Regions from separate parts of the Homo sapiens genome. Here all the other regions are linked to region 4. Evidence: promoter capture Hi-C in 16 types of primary human blood cells and fetal thymus (Javierre and others, 2016). All regions are on one chromosome and are shown on one strand. The core of a region is centred on a gene start or on the middle of the fragment in contact, and the rest is flanking DNA. Distances in the headings are between cores, read along the strand shown. Region 1 has its middle 6.1 kb from the start of NSUN4. Region 2 overlaps RAD54L (RAD54 like). Region 3 overlaps LRRC41 (leucine rich repeat containing 41). Region 4 holds the start of EFCAB14 (EF-hand calcium binding domain 14). Region 5 overlaps NSUN4 (NOP2/Sun RNA methyltransferase 4).

Region 1 (2,700 bases), core at 83-2,582, 380 kb after region 4:
GACATTTGGGGTTGTTACAACTGGGTGGTCATTCTGGCATCTAGTCAGTAGAGGCCAGGGATACTGCTCAGTACCCTGCAATACACAGGACAGCCCTTCCCCACAACAATTATCCAACCTAAATATCAACAGTGCTGAGGTTGAGAAACCCTAATATAGAGCTATTTGAACTTTCTAATTCTTCTTGCATTGGTTTTGACAATTTGAATCTTTTTTTTTTCTTTTTTTGAGACAGAGTCTTACTCTGTCACCCAGGCTGGAGTGCAGTGGTGCAATCTCAGCTCACTGCAACCTACACCTCCCAGGTTCGAGATTCTTGTGCCTCAGCCTCCTGAGTAGCTGGGATTACAGGTACGCACCACCATACCCGGCTAATTTTTGTATTTTTAGTAGAGACGGGGTTTCACCATATTGCCCAGGCTGGTCTCTAACTTTCAACCTCAGGTGATCCCCCTGCCTCAGCCTCCCAAAGTGCTGGAATTACAGGCATGAGCCACCAAGCCCAGCCCCAACAATTTTAGTCTTTTAAAGAATGTGTCCATTTCATCTAAGGTATTGATTGTCTTCATATAAAGTGTTTCAGAATATTCCATTATTATCCTTTTAATGTCTATAGTATGGGGCGGCAAACTACAGCCACAAGCCAAATTCATCCTGCAGCCTGTTTTTGAAATATAAATACATAATTTTTATGGCTCCTTTACCACTGCAATAGAGTTAAGTAGTTGCTCCACAGATCATGTGTGGCCCACAAAGCCAAACATGCTCCCTGAATCTTTACAGAAAAAGCTTGCTGACCTTTGGTTTATAGGATCCTTAGTGATGTCCCCTATTACTGATATTGGCAATTTGTGTCTTCCCTCTTTTGTACCTTATCAGGCTAATGAGATGTTTATATATTTTATTGAACTTTTCAAAGGACTAGCTTTCGGTTTTGTTGTTTTCCTCCGTTTCTTTTATATGTAATTGATTTCCACTCTTATATTTATAGTTGATTTCTTTCTACCTTAGTTCTGTTGTCAAACTAAATAAAAGAGATTATCCAAATATAATCAATTAATTCAGGAGTAAGCATTGCAATGTGGAATATGGTACCATATTAACCTACGGGCATATGAGGAGGTAAAGGAAAACAAGAGTTGTTTTTTGTTTTTTAATTTTTTTTGAGACAGGGTCTCATTGTGTTGCCCAGGCTGGAGCGCAGTTGCACAGTCATGGCTCACTGCAGCCTCAACCTCCCAGGCTCAATCAATCCTCCTGCCTCAGCCTCCCAAGTAGCTGGGACTACTACTGGCACAAGCCACCACACCTGGCTAATTTTCATATTTTTTGTAGAGATGAGGTTTCACCATTTTACCCAGGCTGGTCTCAAACTCCTGGGCTCAAGGGACCGCCTGCCTTGGCCACTCAAAGAGTTGGGATTACAGGCATGAACCACTATGCCTGACCTGAAAAAAAAAGCAGGGGGGGCGGGGGTTAAAGGAAAAGTGAGAATCGTTACACATAGTAAGTTGTTTTGGAACAATTATCCCTTGCTACAAGAATTAGTAACAAGGGTTAGTCAATAACAAGCATCAGTCCAAGGTTGGACAGGCAGTTACTGGGCAGATGTTTTCACAGTAGTATTTTGTGTAAGGTTGTGATGGTTTTTGTGCAGGGCTGTGGTTTAGATGCAGACAGGCAGGCGAGCCCCAAAACTGGGGCTTAGTCTGGGAAGGATCTTGGCTTTGCCCAGGAAAGAATTTAAGGGTGAGCCGGTGGTGTTAAACAGCAATTTTTTTTTGAGTCAGGGTCTCACTCTGCCACCCAGGCTAGAGTGCAGTGGTGCAATCCCAATTCACTGCAGTCTCAACCTACTGGGCTCAAACAAGCTTCCCACCTCAGCTACCCAAGTAGCTGGGACCACAGGTGCCCACCACCATGACCAGCTAATTTTTGTATTTTTTGTAGAGACAAGATCTCATTATGTTGCCCAGGCTGGTCTCAAGCTCCTGAGCTCAAGCAATCTTCCTGCCTCAGCCTCCCCAAGTGCTGTTATTGGAGGCATCAGCCACCATGAGTGGTCAAACAGCAATTTTTATTGAACTGGAGCTACTCCTTGTAGAGTAGAGACAACTCATAGGCAGTGTGCCCAGAGCCGCTCTTGTCCTGTTAGCAACTGTATTTATAGCCACTTACACCCACTTTTAATTAGATGCAAATTAAGAAGCAGGCTAATGCAAATTGAGGGGCAGGTTATTCCTAACTTTCTAGGAAAGGGGCAGTAACTTCCTGGTCATTGCCATAGCATCTGTAAATATGCCCCAGAGGAAGTATCTTATGCTAATGACCAGTGAGGGTAGCTAGGGATGGTTTTTGTTGCCATCTGCTGGTTCCTGCCGGTTTCTTCATTTTATCTAAGCGGCACCTTGGGAGCTGGAAATAATTCCTGCCAGTCCCCTACTTCATTCCCCCTCAGAGATTAGATACTCCTCCTTAATCTTAAAGGGGCGGCCAGGTGTGGTGGCTTAGGCCTGTAATCCCAGCACTTTGGGAGGCCAAAGCAGGTAGATCACTTGAGGCCGGGGGTTCGAGACCAGCCTGGCCATCATAATGAAACCCCATCTGTATTAAAAATACAAAAATTAGCTGGGCGTGGGGCACAGGCCTGTGGTCCAGGCTACTCAGGAGGCTGAGGCAGGAGAATCATTTGAACTCGGG
Region 2 (2,700 bases), core at 116-2,615, 470 kb after region 4:
TTTGGGACCCCTTCCTCCATTAAAAAAAGAAAAAAAAAAGAAAAAAAAAGAGGCCAGATGCAGCAGCTCACACCTGTAATACCAGCATTTTGGGAGGCTGAGGCAGGCAGATCACTCAAGGTCAAGAGTTCAAGACCAGCCTGGCCTACATGGTAAAACCATGTCTCTACTAAAAACACAAAAATGTGCCAGGTATGGTGGCGGGTGCCTGTAATCCCAGCTACTCAGGAAGCTGAGGCAGGAGAATCGCCTGAACCTGGGAGGCAGAGGTTGCAGTGCGCCAAGATCACGCCACCGCACTCCATTCTGAGCGACAGAGCAAGACTCCCTATCAAAAAAAAGAAAAAACAAAAACAAAAAAGACTGCATTGGTATAAAGATAACTATAATAATATAATCAGGCTGGATTACTATGTATTTTTTTTCTTCTGATTTCAAAAGGAATTAAAGATCACCATCGCTCTCTAAGTGCAGTGTTAGCTCACCAAGCTCCAGCTGAAGGAGAATGGAGATAAGTAAGCAGGTGAGCCAAGACAGCACCACTGCAGCACTCCAGCCTGGGTGAGAACACAAGACTCTGTCTCAAAAAAAAAAAAAAAAAAAAAGAGTACCTAAGTATATCACTGTGAGTAGAAAAATAGGGGACAGAAATCCGGTATTGCAGTTTGCAGTTTTTCCATTTTCATTTTTTGTGTGAATTCTTTTTTTTTTTTAGACAGAGTCTCGCTCTGTCACCAGGCTGGAGCGCAGTGGCACAATCTTGGCTCACTGCAAGCTCCACCTCCCGGGTTCATGCCATTCCTCAGCCTCTCGAGTAGCTAGGACTACAGGCGCCCGCCACCACACCCAGCTAATTTTTTGTACTTTTTACTAGAGATGGAGTTTCACCATGTTAGCCAGGATGGTCTCAATCTCCGATCTCCTGACCTTGTGATCCGCCCGCCTAGGCCTCCCAAAGTGTTGGGATTATAGGCGTGAGCCAACGTGCCCGGCCTTTTGTGTGAATTCTTAATATAAATGTAGGGATGTAAAGCATTAATACAAGTCAAAATGTTTCAGTGAACAAGTTTCAGCACTTCAATTTTATAACAACCATAAACAAACCTGTTCATATCTTCTGGACAATGGATTTTTTAAAATACAATTTCTTATTGACAGCAACTAAACAGTGTTAGTAGCATTCTTATCATACAGCAGATTCTACCCATTAACTATACTTTTCTGAATTTTCCTATACGCAAGTATTTTTTTTCCTTTTGAGACAGGGTCTCTGTCACCCAGGGTGGAGTGCACTGACAGTATCACGGGTCACTGCACCCTTGACCTCCTCAGCTCAAACGATCCTCCCACCTCAGCCTCCAGAGTAGCTGGGACTACAGTCACGTGCAACCACATCCAGCCAATTTATTTATTGTTTTTTAGAAATAGGGTCTCACTATGTTGTTCAAGTTGGTCTCAAACTCCTGGGCTCAAGTGATCCTCCTGCCTCAGCCTCCCAAAGTGCTGGGATTACAGGTGTGAGCCACCACACCTGGCCTGCAAGTACATTTTTAATGTTGTCTATCTTCTGTTCTATTCCTGTAACTTTGCTATTAAAAGAGAATAGCTCTTGTATAATACATTGAACTTCATGGGCCTCCTGATTACAGTGCCTGCCATCTCCCTCCCACCAAATGCCATTCTTCTTCTGTGTTCCCTATCTCAGCAAATGACACCACCATCCATCTACCTTGCCAAAGCCTAAAATCCCAACTTCATCCTCAATTTTCCCTCTCCCCACATGTAATCAATCCCAAGTTTTTCCACTTGTAATTTTTAAGTATCTCTCAAAATCCACCCACTTCTTCCCATTCCCCATTCCCCTAAAACCCATGTCCAGGCCATAATCCTCTCTTGCTTGGCCACCTGCAATAGCTTTCTCACTAGTTTCCCTACCTCCAGTCTCTCCCCATCCAACAAATATTCTATACTGCTGTTACCTCCTACCCCCACTTAAAACACTTCTAAAGCTCTTCAGTGACCTTAGTCCAGACTCTCCTAGCATGGCTTCTGAAAGGCCTTCCACTCTTAGCCACTGCACAGCTCTCCAACTCTCATCTCTCACCACCATCCCCCAACTCCCCACACTCTCTTTTCAGTACCTGCCTCTATTGCTGCCAGTCTTTCCAATAAGCTGTTCCTTCTATTAGAATGTTTTCCACTCCCTTCACCTGTCTAACCCCTCATATCTTTCAGGACTTAACAGCACATCTCTCAGAGGCAGGTCTTCCCCAATCTCCAGACCCATAGGTCTCCTGTTGTGCACTCCCACAACTGCACTTATGCCATGTAGTTACACAGGACAACTTTGAACAAATCCTGAATGAAACAGTCCCAGAGGATTACACACCATTTTAACACCATTTTCTTTCTTTTGAGACGGGGTCTCGCTCTGTCACCCAGGCTGGAGTGCAATGGTGCCAATCTCAGCTCACTGCAACCTCCACCTCCTAAGCTCAAGTGATCCTCCCATGTCAGCCTCCCAAGTAGCTGGGACAACAGGCACACGCCACCATGCCCAGCTAATTTTTTTTGTATTTTTGGTAGAGATGGGGTTTCACCATGTTGCCTGGGTTGGTCTCAAACTCCTGAGCTCAAGCTATCCGCCTACCTTGGCCTCCCAGAATGCTGGGATTACAGGCATGAACCAACATGCCCACC
Region 3 (2,700 bases), core at 143-2,642, 430 kb after region 4:
AGGTTTCACCATGTTGGCCAGGATGGTCTCCATCTCTTGACCTCGTGATCCACCCGCCTCGGTCTCCCAAAGTGCTGGGATTATAGGCGTGAGCCACCGTGCCCAGCCGAGAGTGCTAATTATTAAATGCACAGAACCAAGAAAGAAAATACAGACATATTTAACCACATAAAATGCTAACACTATCTTCAGGACTTTGTATTGATTAAATTAAAAAAATGAAAATGCCAACACCATAACCAAATTTTAAAAGGTAAATACACTGGGAAAGAACATTTGCAACAATATTTGCAAAACAAAGGGACACAAAATAAAAAGACAAATATCCCAGTAAAATAAAATGAGTAAGGATTTGGACACATCATGAAATACACAAAAATCCCCAGTAAAGTGAAAAATGTTGTCTCATGATAAAAGTGAGAAAGTAAAATCCCTATTTCACCTCTTAGTTTAGTAAAGTCTTGTTTTGATTTGGTTTTCATCGCAAAGGTAATGCCTAGGTTTGGCCATGGCGAAATTTGCATTTTACTATGCTATTGGAGGGAACAGAAATTGTTGTAACTTTCTTGGTAGGCAATCTGGTAATATTTGTTCAGACTTTAAAATATCTAGGCTGGCTGGATGTGGTGGCTCTTACCTGTAATTCCAGACTTTAGAACACCAAGGCAAGAGGATCACTTGAGCCCATGAATTCGAGACCAGTCTGGGCAACACAGGGAAACCCCATCTCTACAATAATTTTTTTTTTTTTTTGAGACAGAGTCTCTCTCTGTCACCCAGGCTGGAGTGCAGTGGTATGATCTTGGCCCAAGTAGCTGAGATTACAGGCGCCCATCAGCTCGGCTACTTTTTGTATTTTTAGTAGAGACAAGGTTTCACCACATTGGCCAGGCTGGTCTCGAACTCCTGACATCAAGTGATCCACCCACCTTGGCCTCCCAAAGTGCTGGGATTATAGGTATAAGCCACTGTGGCCGGCCTGCAATAATTTTTAAAAATTAGCTGGGCGTGTTGGCATGTACCTCCCAGCTAATTGGTAAGCTAAGGTGGGAGGATCACTTGAGCCCAGGAGGTTGAGGCTGCAGTGAACTATAATAGCACCACTGCACTCCAGCCTGGCTGACAGAGACCCTCTCCTCCCCAGAAAATTTAGGCTGGGCGTGGTGGCTCCCACCTGTAATCCCAGCACTTTGAGAGGCCGAGGCAGGTGGATCACCTGAGGTCAGGAGTTCAAGACCAGCCTGGCCAATATGGTGAAACCCCGTCTCTACTAAAAATACAAAAATTAGCCGGGCGTGGTGGCGCATGCCTGTAGTCCCAGCTACTCAAGAGGCTGAGGCAGGAGAATCACTTGAGCCTGGGAGGTGGAGGTTGCAGTGAGCCAAGATTGTGCCATTGCACTCCAGCCTGGGCGACAGAGCAAGACTCCATCTCAAAAAAAAAAAAAAAAAAAAAAAAACCAGCTGGGGCAACACAGTGAGACCTTATCTCTACAGAAAAAATTTAAAAATTAGCTGTGCATAGTGGCATGCGTCTATAGTCCCTACTACTTGGGAGGCTAAGGCAGGAAGATTGCATGAGCCCCAGGATTCAAGGCTACAGTGAGCTATGATCTCACCACTGCACTGCAGCCCTGGGTGATGGGACAAGACCCTGTCTCTTAAAAAAATAATTTGGCTATAAGTTCTACTCCTTAGAATTTATAGTATATAAAAATTGAGATACTCATGAAGATTTATTTCCAGATGTTTATTACAGAAGAGTTTAATATAAAAAAGCTAGTAACAGGGTCAGGCACTGTGGCTCATACCTGTAATCCCAGCACTTTGGGAGGCCAAGGCGGCGGATCACTTGAGGTCAGGAGTTCAAGACCAGCCTGGCCAACATGGCGAAACCCCATCTCTACCAAAAATACAAAATTTATTTGGGTGTGGTGGCACGTGCCTGTAATCCCAGCTACTTGGGAGACTGAGGCAGGAGAATAGCTTGAACCTGGGAGATGGAGGTTGCAGTGAGCCGAGATCGTGCCACTGTACTCCAGCCTGGGCAACAGAGCAGGAATGTCTTAAAAAAAAAAAAAAAAAAAAAAAAAAAACTAGAAACAGGCCGGGCATGGTGGCTTACGCCTGTAATCCCAACACTTTGGGAGGCCAAGGCAGGTGGATCACCTGAGCTCAGGAGTTTGAGACCAGCCTGGCCAACATGGCGAAACCCTGTCTACTAAAAAATACCAAAAAATTAGCTGGACATGGTGTTGTGTGCCTGTAGTCTCAGCTACTTGGAAGGCTGAGGCACAAGAATTGCTTGAACCCGGGAGGCAGAGGTTTCAGTGAGCTAATATTGTACCACTGCACTCCAGCCCAGACCAGGGCGACAGAGGAAAAAAAAAAAAAAAAGCTAGAAACAATGGAAATATTAAATACAGCAAGTATTATTACATATGGTACACATTTTCAAAATAAAATATTCTAAAAATATTTGAATACATGGTATGTTTTAAAAGCCCAGCATTTGAAACTGTTCAGAATTGTCTCAATGTTGTAAAAACAAATATATATAGGTACTCTCATATATGTAAATACTCCAGAGTTAGTTTACACTTTTGAGACGGTCTCACTCCAGTTGCCCAGGCTGAAGTGCAGTGGCACGATCTTAGCTCACTGCAGCCTCAACCTCCCAGGCTCAGGCGATCCTCCCACC
Region 4 (2,700 bases), core at 196-2,695:
TTATTTTATTTTATTTTATTTATTTATTTATTTATTTATTTATTTATTTATTTATTTATTTATTTATTTTTGAGACGGAGTCTCGCTCTGTTGCCAGACTGAAGTGCAGTGGTGCAATCTCGGCTTGTTGCAACCTCCGCCTCCCGGTTTCAAGCCATTCTCTTGCCTCAGCCTCCCAAGTAGCTGGGATTACAAGCGCGCACCACCACGCCCAGGTAATTTTTGTATTTTTAATAGAGACAAGGTTTCACCATATTGGCCAGGATGGTCTCCATCTCCTGACCTTGTGATCCGCCCACCTCAGCCTCCCAAAATGCTGGGATTACAGGCGTGAGCCATCGCGCTGGCCCAGAGTGAATTTTTTTTTTTTTTTTTTTTTTTACGGAAAAGCCAGAGTATGCTACCTCTCAGCTTAAAGCCCCCAGTGCTTTCCCAAAGTCCTTTCAGTGATCCATAAGGCCCTAAAGCCCTGGCCTCTGATGCTTCTCTGACCTCATTTCCTATCACTCTGCTCCTTGCTCTTCTGGTCCAGCCACAACAGGTCTTCCTGGTCACTCCTTCCTGCAGCCACTGCACAGCTCATTCCCTCACCTCTCCTCCGATAAGCTGACTAAATGTTCCCTTTTCACAGAGGCACTCCCCATCACCTGACCGTGTTTCAATTTTCATCATAACACTTATCACCTCCTGACATTTAATATGTTTGCCTATTGTTGCTCTCCTCCCTCTAGAGTATAAATAAACTGCAGGAATAGATTGGCAGATAAGATACACGATGCTCAGTTAAACTTGCATTTCACATACACAATGAATAATTTTTTAGTGTGAGGATGTCCCAGATGTTGCATGGGATGTCTTAATGCTAAAAAATTGTTTGCTGTTTCTCTGAAATTCAAACTTTACTGGGTGTCCTACATTTTTATTTGCTAAATCTGGCAACACTATACAGGAAGACAAGGACCCTGGTTATTTTGTTCATGGCTGTATCCCCAGCGCTAGAACAGCTCCTGACACGTAGTAAGTAAGCTCTCAATAAATATTTATTGACTGAATGAATGTGTTAATTAATCTGAAACGCGCCTAAACTTTTAACAGCCTGTGTGAGAGTCAGAGAGGCGGAGCCTTCAGACTTGGTTAGTCCAGGGGGCGTGGGCGGCTGATGAACTTTCGAAGTAGGTCGAGCAGCCGGGCGCTTTGCCTGCCCCGCCCGCGCTCCGCAGGATGCAGGACTCCACCCGGCTCAGGTTCGCAGCAGGTCCCGGAAGCCCTCCTGGGGGCGGGGCCACCCTAATCGGCAGGTGGGACCCAGCCCCAGCCGGGGCAGGGCCCCTTTAACGCCCCACCTCTCCGCCACGACTTTCGCCCCGGCGTGACGTCACCCCAGCGGGCGACCAATGGGAGTGCGGCTTACTGGCAGGCGGCGCAGGCGGCCGCTGCCAAAGGGGAAGTGATCTGGGGCTGGAGCGATGGCCCGGGGCTGGAGCTCGCGGCCGCCGCCGCCGCAGCCGCCGCCACCAACGCCAACAACAACGTGTCGGGAGCAGCCGCGGCCGAAGCCGGAGCAGGGGCCGGAGTCGCGGCTGGAGTGGGGCCTGCGCGTGTGAGTGGCCGAGAGTTGCCCGTGCCGGAGACCTCAAACTCCGGGCGGGAGCGCTTTCGGTCGGCCGAGCCGCCGTCGCCCGCGGCACCGTGTCCCCAAGGCCCAGACAGCGGGGCGGGGGTCTATCAGGCGCGGGACTGGCTTCTCTCAGGCCGACCCTTCTAGCCGGGCTCCGGATCTTCCTCGGCCTCGGGCCCCCTTCACGTTCAGGACGGAGGCCGGAGAACGGTGATCATCACACACCCCAGCCGGCTTCCTGGCCAGGGCATTTTCTCTGCGGCCAAGCAGTGTTGGGATTGTAGCTGCTGGGAGCCCCCTCCTGCCGCCACCTCTCCTGCAAGGAAGGGACTGACGCGTTCCCACTTTCTTACTCTGCACCTCCCCACTCTCTTCCCATTCAAGAACGAGTTTCTCTTCCCTCTCCATTGGAAATCTTGCTCCGGAGGTCCGAAACACGTATTTTAAGCGTGCCCTTCCTCACCTCCTGGAGCACCCTTAGAAGTATTGCCTACTTATCCGGGCTGAGAATCCTTCATTTTTGACCTGGCTTTTTTTTCGCCCTTTGGGAGATAAAGGTCCCTCTCCACCCTCTACTAACACTCTGCACCCAAGGCCTTATCCTTTGGGGTCACCAGCTCCTTGGCCATTTCTATGTGATTTCCCCCACCCATCTGAGTTCCAGTTTCCTCTGGGCTCCAATCTCCAGTCCCTGGCGGATCTGGTCAGTCCCACCCCTAGGTGGGAGTGACCAGGGGGCTCTGGCCCAGGATTCCCAACCCTGGAAGGCAGCTCCAAGGCAGGAAGAGAATTGGGCATCGGGTACGAACCTGGCAGCTCAGGAGTCGGGGCTCCACTCACCCCACACAAAAAGATGAAAAAGCGCAAAGAGCTCAATGCATTGATTGGTTTGGCTGGGGACAGCCGGAGAAAGAAGCCCAAGAAAGGCCCAAGCAGTCACCGCCTGCTTCGCACTGAGCCTCCCGACTCAGACTCTGAGTCCAGCTCCGAAGAGGAAGAGGAATTCGGTGTGGTTGGAAATCGCTCTCGCTTTGCCAAGTGAGTAGTGGTGAAAGGTGGAATGGGAAGAAGGCATCTCCTTG
Region 5 (2,700 bases), core at 19-2,518, 370 kb after region 4:
CATGGTGGCACACTCTAGTCCCAGCTACTCGGGAAACTGAGGCAGGAGGACCCCTTGAGCCCAGGAGGTTGAGGCTGCAGTGAGCCGTGTTCACACCACTGTACTCCAGCCTGGGTGACAAAGTGAAAACCTGCCACTCAAAAAAAAAAAACTTTAAAAAAATTAATATGGAGATTTTCAACATGATTAATAAGAGATTGTAAATTAGATACTATCCATTTGGCAAAAAAATTAAGTTTGATAGCACCAATATTGGCAGCATGTGGGAAATCAGTACTCATTCATTACCAGTAGGAGTGAAACTGGTTTAACCTCCACAGAGAAATTTAGCAATCGCTATCAAAATCTTAAATGGATGTAAACTGTTATTCAACAACTATACTTCCACAATGTCAACAAAATTAAAAAAGGATTTAACCCCAGGACACATTATTAAATAAAAAAATACAAAGTTCAGAATAGTGAGTATAATATAATATACTACCGGCTGGGCGCAGTGGCTCACGCCTGTAATCCTAGCACTTTGGGAGGCCGAGGCGGGTGGATCACGAGGTCAGGAGGTCAAGACCAGCCTGGCCAAGATGGTGAAGCCCCGTCTCTACTAAAAAAAATACAAAAATTAGCCGGGCGTGGTGGTGGGCGCTTGTAATCCCAGCTACTCGGGAGGCTGAGGCAGAGAATTGCTTGAACCCAGGAGGCGGAGGCTGCAGTGAGCAGAGATCGCGCCATTGCACTCCAGCCTGGGCAACAAAAGCGAAACTCCGTCTCAAAAAAAAAAAAGAAACAATCGTTATCTATAGGGTGGGGAAGTAGGGGGCTACAGGCCAGATGAGAAAAACTCACTTTTCATTGGATACTCTTTTGTGCCTTCTGAATTTTGTACCATGTGCTGTACTAACATTCAAAAATAAATAAATGAGCTTATTCTTACTTACCTTCATGAGGCTTTCTGAGCAACCAAGTGACTTGAGAAATAAAGTAAGCCTAGTAAATTTTTCCCCTACTCAAATAGTTTCAAATTCTTTTTTGCTGCCAACTATCTTTAATAGAGATAATAACCAGTCATCTAAGCTGATTTTTCTTTTGGTCAAATCACCAATGTAGAACTGGCCAGTCCAGAAACAGCTCTACATGCTCAAACATAGGGGCTGGATCCTAACCCCTCAGGCCCTAGAACCAGGATGGGGAGGCCGCATTAAGCTGGATGCATGTCCTAAATCAAGAATCACTCACCCGGTCATAGGTGTCCCCCTCCAGTTCTCCCCATTTCCTGCCATCCCATGAGGTAACTCGAACTTGATTTCCATCCCTGATCTCTTCAGGCACATAGCTGTGAAGGATCTTCTGTAGTCTGGCTATTCGGGACGGGGAGAGATCATTGGCAGCAAGATTGCCTATGGAAATAAAGATACTTCAGAGGCCATGACCCAATGAAACATTCCACCAGCAATGGCGCTGATGGAGTCAGACCAATTCTCAGGTAGTCCCAGCCAATGCAAACCCCAGCATCAGGAACATTTATTATGTGCATGGCACAGCATCAGTCATTCTGAGTGGGGGTACAATGGCAAACACCTAAATGGGCCAGAAAGTATCAAAGTTATTTAAGTCAATGAATAAAGCAGACCAAGTAAGACTCCTTTCCTTTCTCCTTTCCTGTCCTCTCTCCCCTTTCTCCCCTTTCTTTCCCCTTTCCCCTTTTCCTTTCCCCATTACTTTCGCCTTTCTTCTCTCCTTTCCCTCTCCCCTTTCCTCCCTTTCCTTTCTCTCCTTTTCTTTCTCTCCCTCTCTTTCCTTTTGTTTTTTTTTTAAGACAGAGTCTCATTCTGTCGCCCAGGCTGGAGTTCAGTGGCACACTCTCAGCTCACTGCAACCTCCACCTCCTGGGTTCAAGTGATTATCATGCCTTAGCCTCCTGAGTAGCTGGGACTATGGGTGTGCACCACTATACCCGGCTAATTTTTGCATTTTTAGTAGAGACAGCATTTCACCATGTTGGCCAGGCTGGTCTTGAACTCCTGACCTCAGGTGATCCCGCCTGCCTTGGCCTCCCAAAGTGCTAGGATTACAGGTGTGAGCCACTGCACCCAGCCACATTCTTTTTTTTTTTTTTTAAAGACAGGGTCTCTGAGTCTGGGCATAGTGGCTCACGCCTCTCATCCCAGCACTTTGGGAGGACGCCAAAGTAGGTGGATTGCTTCAGCCCAGGAGTTCAAGACCAGCCTGGGCAACATAGCGATACCTCATTTCTACAAAAATAAAAATATATTTAAATAATTTTTTAAAAAGAGACTGGAAGGCCAGGCACGGTGGCTCACACCTGTAATCCCAGCACTTTGGGAGGACAAGGCAGGCGGATCACAAGGTCAGGAGATCGAGACCATCCTGGCTAACATGGTGAAACCCCGTCTCTACTAAAAATACAAAAAATTAGCCGGGCATGGGGGTGGGTACCTGTAGTCCCAGCTACTCGGGAGGCTGAGGCAGGGGAAAGGCGTGAACCCGGGAGGCAGAGCTTGCAGTGAGCCGAGATGGCGCCACTGCATTCCAGCCTGGGCGACAGAGCAAGGCTCCATCTCAAAAAAAAAAAAAAAAAAAAAAAGAGACTGGGTCTCACTATGTTGCCCAGGTAGGTCTTGAATTCCTGGCCTCAAGCAATTCTCCCACCTCAGCCTCCCAAAGTGCTGGGATGATGGGTGT

Evidence for each region. The method cuts DNA at HindIII sites, captures the fragments that hold promoters and counts their contacts. A CHiCAGO score of 5 or more calls a contact.
Region 1: a contact is called between a fragment that was not itself captured here and the fragment with the promoter of EFCAB14 in region 4, in 3 of 17 cell types (neutrophils, monocytes and total CD4 T cells). The highest score is 7.4, in neutrophils.
Region 2: a contact is called between a fragment that was not itself captured here and the fragment with the promoter of EFCAB14 in region 4, in 2 of 17 cell types (neutrophils and monocytes). The highest score is 5.4, in neutrophils.
Region 3: a contact is called between a fragment that was not itself captured here and the fragment with the promoter of EFCAB14 in region 4, in 1 of 17 cell types (neutrophils). The highest score is 5.6, in neutrophils.
Region 5: a fragment that was not itself captured here is called in contact with the fragment with the promoter of EFCAB14 in region 4 in 1 of 17 cell types (neutrophils); the score reaches 6.9 in neutrophils.

Annotation. Positions count from the first base shown.
Region 1 is chr1:46,333,349-46,336,048 of GRCh38, reverse strand. No RefSeq gene overlaps it. Among named protein-coding and RNA genes, the nearest start is that of NSUN4, 6.1 kb to the left of the region's middle. RefSeq lists a silencer at 2,060-2,109. The HindIII fragment of the contact is 1,082 bases long and covers 792-1,873 here.
Region 2 is chr1:46,251,626-46,254,325 of GRCh38, reverse strand. The region is part of intron 3 of RAD54L (RAD54 like); the gene reads right to left. Among named protein-coding and RNA genes, the nearest start is that of RAD54L, 5.2 kb to the right of the region's middle. The HindIII fragment of the contact is 4,720 bases long and covers 1-2,700 here.
Region 3 is chr1:46,290,312-46,293,011 of GRCh38, reverse strand. The region is part of intron 3 of LRRC41 (leucine rich repeat containing 41); the gene reads left to right. Among named protein-coding and RNA genes, the nearest start is that of LRRC41, 12 kb to the left of the region's middle. The HindIII fragment of the contact is 8,091 bases long and covers 1-2,700 here.
Region 4 is chr1:46,717,859-46,720,558 of GRCh38, reverse strand. It overlaps EFCAB14 (EF-hand calcium binding domain 14), which reads left to right and starts at 1,445. Exons shown (of 11, transcript NM_014774.3): 1 at 1,445-2,656. The coding sequence starts at 2,472. RefSeq lists silencers at 1,221-1,270, 1,591-1,640. The HindIII fragment of the contact is 11,051 bases long and covers 1-2,700 here.
Region 5 is chr1:46,351,562-46,354,261 of GRCh38, reverse strand. It overlaps NSUN4 (NOP2/Sun RNA methyltransferase 4), which reads right to left. Exons shown (of 6, transcript NM_199044.4): 4 at 1,234-1,394. Among named protein-coding and RNA genes, the nearest start is that of NSUN4, 12 kb to the right of the region's middle. The HindIII fragment of the contact is 4,922 bases long and covers 1-2,700 here.